Linked DNA regions of Homo sapiens: region 2 is linked to region 1. Evidence: promoter capture Hi-C in human tissues and cell types (Jung and others, 2019). All regions are on one chromosome and are shown on one strand. The core of a region is centred on a gene start or on the middle of the fragment in contact, and the rest is flanking DNA. Distances in the headings are between cores, read along the strand shown.

What was found. The method cuts DNA at HindIII sites, captures the fragments that hold promoters and counts their contacts. A contact is called where the count stands out against the background at its distance.
Region 2: a fragment that was not itself captured here is called in contact with the fragment with the promoter of MEOX1 in region 1 in 2 of the 25 tissues and cell types used here (bladder and neural progenitor cells).

What each region holds. Positions count from the first base shown.
Region 1 is chr17:43,659,838-43,664,291 of GRCh38, forward strand. It overlaps MEOX1 (mesenchyme homeobox 1), which reads right to left and starts at 2,085. Exons shown (of 3, transcript NM_004527.4): 1 at 1,229-2,085. The coding sequence starts at 1,697. RefSeq lists an enhancer at 838-1,379. The HindIII fragment of the contact is 25,285 bases long and covers 1-4,454 here.
Region 2 is chr17:43,591,864-43,596,317 of GRCh38, forward strand. No RefSeq gene overlaps it. Among named protein-coding and RNA genes, the nearest start is that of ETV4, 48 kb to the left of the region's middle. RefSeq lists an enhancer at 320-819. The HindIII fragment of the contact is 5,639 bases long and covers 1-4,454 here.

The DNA of each region.
Region 1 (4,454 bases), core at 835-3,334:
ACACACCTCTGCAGGCCTCTTCTTCCTCTCAGTTTGAGCTTTCTTGGGTGAGACCCCTTTATTCATCTCAGAGCATTCCTGGGCTTGGCTAAGAGCAGAAACTCGGGAAAGCTGTGCTTATAAAGCAAAGCACAAAGCATTCCCACCTGTTGGTTGGTGTCCTTCTTTTCTGTCCTGCCCTGGTTAGCCCCATGGGAAGGTCCTCTACAGGCTCCGACAGACAGGCGTGCCCCTGAGGGCGGCTGTCAGGAGGAAAACAGGGCAGCACGGGCAGGAGGCTTGGTCACTGCTTTGTTCTGAACGAGGCCGGGACAAGGAACCAGACAAAAGGTGGACAGGTATAGTGAGCAACCAGGGAGGGCCTGGTGGGGAGGTGAGGAAGCAGCAGGTCCCCACCCTGGGGAAGAGAAGGGCTTTAGCTGGAATCTTAACAAATAGGCCAATCTCATCCTCCAGCCTCTGGGACTCCAGCACGGACTCCCTTGGCTGCCTGCCTCCCTGACTCTCTCAGAGGCTGCCCATCCCTTGCAGCTCCTTGCGGGGCTGCCTTCCTGGGGGGTCAGCCAGATCTCAGCATGCTGAGTTGTCTGTCCCCTTGGCCTGGACATGGCCCAGCTCCGCAGGGTGATATCTGGTGGGCAGTCTGCCCCAAACCTCAGCCCTCCATCTCCCCCTCACCCCTTGATTCTCCCATCCCAGCCGCAGGCCTGCTTCTCTGCCTCTAGGCTCCTGGACACATAGGGTCTTGGCTTTGGGTGGCCACCCAGGGTCCCAGCTTCAGTCTTAGCTCTCAGAGCCTTAACCTCAGCTGAACTTCCCTGGTAAGCGAGCCCTGTGGCTCTAGGACCACTTGGGGCTGGCCAAAGCATGGTGGGGAGGAGGATGACTCAATGGCAGCCTGATTCAGGAAAGCCCCTCACCAGCCCTCGCCAGTCTGCACCCAGAGGATCCATTTCACGTGTCCTCCAAATCCTGGCTGATCCTGTTTCATTCTCTTGCTGGACACCCTTTCTGGGGCCCAGGAGTGCTGGGACACAGACATGGTCCCCATCACCAGAGAATCCTAGAACTCTCAGTGGAAGAAACCCCAAAGGTAACTGGTCCAGTCTCCTGCATTTGGATGGACTAGACAGAAATTCATGCTCAGAGCACCTAGGCACAGAGAGGGTGAGTAACTTCCCCAGGGTCACACAGTAAAGGAATGATCAGCTGCTCCTGAGCCACCTACCTGAACTCTCCTTTCTCCGCCTGGATGATTTCTTCTCTGTCTCATTGGCAGTGCTCCCAAGCACCCCGTAGTCATCGCCTGGGCCTCCTGTGGTGTCCACCAGGCCCAGGCTGCTGGTCCCCATTTCCTTGGAACCCCCTGCCGGGCCTGAGTTGGGCCTGCGCCGGGCGTCTGAGACAGGGAAGTGCCAGTTGGGGGACTGTGGGAAAGCGGGGTGCTGCTCAGTGAAGATGTGCTCCTCCTGGGGCAGGCTGTGTGGGGTGGCTGCCAGGCAGGAGGCTGAGAAGTCAGGGTACGCTGCCGTCGCTGTCGCCAGGAAGTCTGGTTTCTGGTGGAAGGAGAACGGGGTGGGCGGGTAGTGGGGTAGCCCTGAGGCCCCATTGCCTTCCGAGTGGGGGTTTCGAAGGCAGCCCCAGACAGGGGCTGGGGGCTGGAGGCTCCTCATGCAGCTGCTGGCCGCGGGATCCATCTGCTGTCCGCTGCACGCCTCGGTCCTTTCAAAGATTTGATTCTTTATACTTTTTATGTTCAAATTTTTAAAAATGCAAAAGAAAAAAAACTAAATAGGAGGGAAAAATGTTCAACAGAAAATTTACCCCAGGAACCAAAAAAAAAAAAAAACCCAAAACTAAAGTCTCTCCTTAAAGTACACACACATGTGGCCAGCTACTCCTATGTGTGTGCACACACCTATGTCGGGCTTGCTCCTGCCCCTCCAATGCACCAGCCTACCTACTGGGATCCCCTGTATGTGTATTTGTCGCCAATGACACTAAACATTTTCACTGTCCCAACCCAGACGCACCAGCTGACGAGGAGTTCGTCCTGGAGCCCAGAGCAAATGCCTGCAGAGGGCTGGACCAGGGCTGCTGGGACACACTTTTAAATCCTGCGGTGGGGAGAGAGTGACAAATTTCTGAAGTGAAATGTGAGAGAGGAGAGGGAGGGGTTAACCCACACACACAAGATCCCCTCCAACCAAAACCCTAGCAGGCAACTATTAATCATCAGAAACCTTATATGCACATCTAATGGGATTTGCAGATGGAGACTTTTAAAGAAACATTGTCTGTATTTTTTTTTTAAGGAAAGAGAGCAGCACACACACACATACACACACACCGTCTTTAATGTGCCTCCTGTAACACTATGAAGTTATTTTTATTGCACTGTTAACAAAATTCCCCAAGTCTTGGATTTAGAAAAAGCCTTAAGTCAGATCCAGAATCCATCAAATGCCAAATTCCAGGGAGTGAAGTGAGGAATAAGAGCAAGAGACAAGCTTGGTGATTGCATTTGATTTAAAGGCCCTTCTACTGCTGCCTGCGAAAAAGGAAGGTGGATTAAAAGAAATCTTTTTTGCAAGTCTCAGCGGCCCACTGTGGTCTGCAGTACAAAGAAAGGCACACTCTAGAAAAAAAGAATTTCTCTCTGCCCAGAGTGACATTCTCACTTTCTCAGTAACTTAAAAAAACAATCAGATTCTTCCTTCCGCTCTTTAACCTCCAACATACATGCCAATTAGCCACACTCTTCTCTAGAGAGGTTTCAAGTCATTTTTCTTCACAGCAATGGCAAGGCTCTTAAATAAGGTCCTTGAAGTTTCTTCGGGTCTCCTCCCACCTGCTCCCTGCCCCCTTCACCTCCACCCACCTGCTTCCCTTTCTCATCCCCCAGAGGCGGAGGCTTCCGAGGAATTTGGGGTAGGGAAATAGGAATCAGGGGCTCCTCATTCCCCAAAGGAGCCTCTTTGGCAAGCAGGCACGTGGGTCTCCGGGCTGGTGCACATCACAGGGCAGCCAGCCCAAGTGCCATCTTGATGCCCAGTCTTCCTCATGGCTGCGCCCTGCTGGTCTCTCAGAGGGTTAATGCAATTTCTTGGAGGACGACATTCCTAACACCCAGGGGCCAGAACTCCTTCCCCACTGGTTATTCCCATGGCCCAGAGCAGCAGGATGGGGGCAGAAACAGGCATGGACCTTAACAGCAGCGTCTCTGCTGGCTGCTTCCAAAGACGGCGAGGGTTCCCTGAGGAGGGGCCCCTAGGTCTTAGCTCTGCAGCCTGGAGGTGGGGCCCTGGGGGGTGGGTGCAGGAGATGCTCCTAGGAGGAGCCGAAGGGCACCCAGGGATGTGGAATGAAGCCACGACTGGCCTTTAATCCAGAAACTCCAGTCAGATACACATCCTGGGAGCAGGAGCAGCTGTAAAAGATGGGGAGGGGTGTACATATGAAAAGATGTGCCCTCTTCTGGAACAAGCGGTCAGAGTGTTGTAGACCAGTAGAGTGGATGGGGTCATAGCTGTCAACCAGACTCATCTTTCTGCTTTGCCCAGGGCTTAGCTGTGGCACACACAATTCTCTGAGCCTCACAACTTTCCTAGGATGGGTAAGTAAGAATTATGTCTCCATTTTGCAGATGACAAAACCGAGGCTCAGATGGATGACTGGGCTGCCCAGACTCACACAGCTAAGAAATGGTGGAATCAGCACTTGGCCTCAGGTGTCCTGCTGTTCAGTTTGGAGCAGGCCAGATGCAGAGGAGGAGGCATGGGGTTTGAGGTTAGACGGGTCTGAGTTCAAGCCCCAGGTCTGCCACTTCCTGGCTGTGTGCCCTGGAACAAGTCACCTTATCTCTCTGAACTTCTTTTTTTTTTTTTTCTTTTTGAGATGGAGTCTCGTTCTGTCGCCCAGGCTGGAGTGCAGTGGCATGATCTCAGCTCACTGCAAGCTCCGCCTCCCGGGCTCACGCCATTCTCTTGCCTCAGCCTCCCGAGTAGCTGGGACTACAAGCACCCGCCACCACGCCCGGCTAATTTTTTGTATTTTTTAGTAGAGACGGGGTTTCACCGTGTTAGCCAGGATGGTCTCAATCTCCTGACCTCGTGATCCGCCCGCCTCGGCCTCCCAAAGTGCTGGGATTACAGGCATGAGCCACCATGCCTGGCCATCTCTCTGAACTTCTGTTTCCTCATCTGAGATGACAGTCAGAGTGGGATCTGTGTAAGGCACTTTGCACCTTACACATTTTTACCCCCACGGATTCCCACAAAAGCCTTCTGAGGCAACAGTCATTCTCATCAGCTCCGTTTCTCTCTCTCTCTTTTTTTTTTATCAGCTCCGTTTTTCAGCAGAAGACTCTGATGCACAGATAGACTGTGTAACCTGCACAAGGCCACACAGCAGGGAAGCGGCGGACCCAGGATTCAAATTGAGGCAGCCCAGCC
Region 2 (4,454 bases), core at 1,301-3,800, 68 kb before region 1:
GGAGCCAGCTGAGCGAACACAGAGGCGCTGTAACCGGCGCAGATCCCAGCTTCCTCTGAAATTTCCAGGCCTCTTTTTTCCTGTCGGATTCCAGACAGATGAAATTTTCCTGGCCCCGGCCCATTCCTGGCAGCATCTCCCCTCTGAATCATCATAAATCAGGGCTTGGCGGGGAGCGGTGGGATTTTCCTGATTTTCCTGATCGACACGCTGCTGCCCTGGTAAAATGGGGCTCCGTTTCCAAGGCTAAAAATAGCTCTGGGGTGCTTGCCTGAGTTCTCCCCATCGCAAGTTGCTGCTTCGTATTGTAAATATTCATATCTGTCTATGATTATTATTTCATCGAGAAGGGCTGTGGACGTGCAGATGCGGGCCGCTGGGGGCCTCGGTGGTCTGAAGTGACACCATTGTTCACAGGATCATATGCGGGGGCCTGTGCATTCCTCAAAGCCTCCATCATCCAAGGAGCCCCCAATTAATTTCAATACAAACACCGGATATGGCCTCCCCCGCGCCTTTGCAGCCATAACACATGAGGTCATGCTGCTTTGGTTAACCCGAGGAGTTGCAGAGTGAGATGGGGAGGCTTCTAGGCCCCAGGGGAGGCCTGGGGTATCTGCCCTGCCTGGTTTAGGCGAGGCTGTTTACTGCAATGGGGTCTACGGCACACCCACACTCTCTCGCCTTCCTTCACTCAGAAACTGAAATCTCTGATTCCCGATGTCTCTTCCCAGCCACTCTCCCCATCTCTAGCCACTTGGCTGCCAACCCACCACCCACCCCTGTGGTTCTTTGCAAACTCCTTACCCTCCGTGCTCTTGCATACACAGCTTCATTCACCTGGGGCATCTTTTTACCTCTTCATCAGGCTCCTTCTGGAAGATTCACCTCAGGAGTTTCTTCCTTCAGGAAGCATTTCCTGATCACTCCATTCAGGGTTAAGTACTGTTTTCTTGGCTGGGAGCAGTGGCTCATGCCTGTAGTCTTGGTACTTTGGAAGACGGAGGCAGGCGGATCACTTGAGCTCAGGAGTTCGAGACCAGTCTGGCCAACATGGTGAAACCACATCTTTACTAAAAATACAAAAATTAGCTGGGCACAGTGGTGCATGCCTGTAATCCCAGCTACTCGGGAGGCCGAGGCAGGAGAATCGCTTGAACACAGAAGGTGGAGGTTGCAGTGAGCCGAGATTGCGCCAATGCATTCCAGCCTGGGTGACAGAGTGAGACTCCATCTCAACAACAACAACAAAATTAAATTTAAAAAAAAAGTACTTGCTGGGCGTGGTGGCTCGCGCCTGTAATCCCAGCGCTTGGGGAGGCCGAGGCTGGTGGATCACCTAAGGTCAGGAGTTCAAGACCAGCCTGGCCAACATGGTGAAATCCCATCTCTACTAAAAATACAAAAAAGTAGCTGGGCATGGTGGCAGGCGCCTGTGATCCCAGCTACTCAGGAGGCTGAGTCAGGAGAACTGCTTGAACCCGGGAGGCAGAGGTTGCAGTATGCCGAGATCATGCCATTGCACTCCAGCCTGGGCAACAAGAGCAAAATTCCATCTCAAAAAAAAAAAACTACCACTTTCAGCCGGGCAGGGTGGCTCACGCCTATAATCCCAGCACTTTGGGAGGCCGAGGTAGGTGGATCACAAGGTCAGGAGATCGAGACCATCCTGGCTAACACAATGAAACCCCATCTCTACTAAAAATACAAAAAAATTAGCCAGGCGTGGTGGTGGGTGCCTGTAGTCCTAGCTACTCAGGAGGCTGAGGCAGGAGAATGGCGTGAACCTGGGAGGCGGAGCTTGCAGTGAGCCGAGATCACTGCAACTGCACTCCAGCCTGGGCAACAGAGGGAGACTCTGTCTCAAAAAAAAAATTCCACTTTCTCTTCTGTGTTCCTACAGCTTATTGATTCTCAAACATTAGCCCTCATCAGAATCGCATGGAGGGTTTGCTAAAACACCGATTGCTGGGCCCCTCCCAGTTTCAGAATCAATAGGTCTGAAGTAGGGCTTGCACATTTGCATTTCTAACAAGATCTCAGGAGACACTGATGCTGCTACAGCCCCCTGTGATCACTTCCTCCATTGGTGGAACTTACCCTGCTGTGCTGCAATTACCCGCCTTTTTCTTTTCTTTTCTTTTTTTTTTTTTTGTTTGAGACAGGGTCTCACTCTGTCACCCAGGCTGGAGTGCAGTGGCGCCATCTTGGCTCACTGCAACCTCTGCCCCTGGGTTTAAACAATTCTCCTGCCTCAGCCTCCCGAGTAGTTGGGATTACAGGTGCCTGTCACCACACCCGGTTAATTTTTGTATTTTTAGTAGAGACGGGGTTTCACCATGTTGGCCAGGCTGGTCTCAAACTCCTGACCTCAAGTGATCCACCCGCCTCGACCTCCCAAACTGCTGGGATTACAGGCGTGAGCCACCTGTCCGGCCACCTGCTTATTTTTTGTTCCCTCCCACTGGGAGGGCTGGGACTGTCTTTTCCATTTCTCTATCCTACTGCTTGGCAAACAGTGAAGCTGATCACTGGAGGTTTGTTGACTGAATGAATTGTGGATTTGGAACCAACCTGCTAGTTGTAGAGCTCAGTTGAGGGGAGGAGGTCTGCTGGTGAGAGGGCTGGTTCTCAGGGCTTTTGGGGTCATGAGTATGTTACCTGAAAGGGGGCCCAATCCAGATCCCAAGAGAGGATTCTTGGACCTTGCAGAAGAAAGAATTCGGGGCGAGTTTATAGAGTAAAGTGAAAGCAAGTTTATTAAGAAAGTAAACGGGCTGGGCGTGGTGGCTCACTCCTGTAATTCCAGCACTTTGGGAGGCCGAGGAGGCGGATCACCTTAGGTCAGGAGTTCGAGACCAGCCTGATCAATATGGAGAGACCCCATCTCTACTAAAAATACAAAATTAGCCGGGCGTGGTGACTCACGCCTGTAATCCCAGCTACTCAGGAGACTGAGGCAGGAGAATCGCTGGAACCCAGGAGGTGGAGGTGGCAGTGAGCCAAGATCGCGCCATTGCACTCCAACCTGAGCAACAAAAGCAAAACTCCGTCTCAAAAAAAAAAAAAAGAAACTAAATGAATAAAGAATGGATACTGCATAGGCAGAGCGGCGGCATGAGTTGCTTGACTGAGTATGCTTATTGTTCCGGTTTTTTTTTTTTTTTTTTGAGACGGAGTCTCGCTCTGTTGTCCAAGCTGGAGTGCAGTGGTGCAATTCAGCTCACTGCAACCTCCGCCTCCTGGTTTCTAGCAATTCTCCTGCCTCAGCCTCCCAAGTAGTTGGGATTACAGCTGTGCGCCACAACATCAGGCTAATTTTTTATATTTTTAGTAGAGACAGGTTTTCATCATGTTGGCCAGGCTGGTCTTGAACTCCTGACCTCAAGTGATCCTCCTGCCTCAGCCTCCCAAAGTGCTGGGATTACAGGCATGAGCCACCACACCCGGCTATAGTTATTTCTTTATTATATGCTAAAAAGGGATGGATTACTCATGAGTTTCCTGGGAAAAGGGCAGAGATTTCCCAGAACTGAAAGTCCCTACCCTTCTTAGACTATATAGGGTAACTTCCGGAAGGTGCCATGGTATTTGTAAACTGTCATGGTGATGGTAGGAGTGTCTTTTAGCATGCTAATGTATTATAATTAACATATAATGAACAGTGAGGACGACCAGAGATCACTTTCGTGGCCATCTTGGTTTGGGTGGGTTTTGGCCATCTTCTTTACTGCATTCTCTTTTATCAGCAAGGTCTTTGGGACCTGTATCTTGTGCTGATCTTCTGTCTCATCCTGTGACTAAGAATGCCTAACCTCCTGGGAATGCAACCCAGCAGGTCTCAGCCTCATTTTGCCCAGCTGCTACTCAAGATGGCGTTGCTCTGGTTCAAACACCTTTGACAAGTGGGGATCACCCCAACCCCCCCAGGTGAATGAGCACAATTCCCTCTCCCCACGCAAGTCTCCCATAAAGTCCAAAACAAGAGGGTCACTGATTCACAAGTACACAAATACACAAGTCATGAAATTCCATCCTTGTAAAGGATGCCAATCAGAGATGCCAGAAGGAGAAATGGGGAATCAGGATTTTAACTTGATTTTCTTCCTCTGAAACCTGGAAATGCCAAGTGATGAAAGGATACCAGAACCCCGGCCTTTCCTTTGAATTAGGTCTGGACCCCAGCCCCCTTTCCTGCCATCTTATGCTCTGGCCACACAGTAGGGCAAGATCTCAATCCCTGCCCAAACTACAAACTCCTTGAGGACACATCCTAAGTCTTAATAATCTTGAGAACTACTCCTTCACCTTCCACATAAGGATCTGTGTTTTCTTTCCTTTTTTTTTGAGACAGGGTTTCACTCTGTCACCCAGGCTGGAGTGCAGTGGCATGATCATGGCTCACTGCAGCCTCGACCTCTTTGAACTCACGTGATTCTTCCACCTCAGCCACC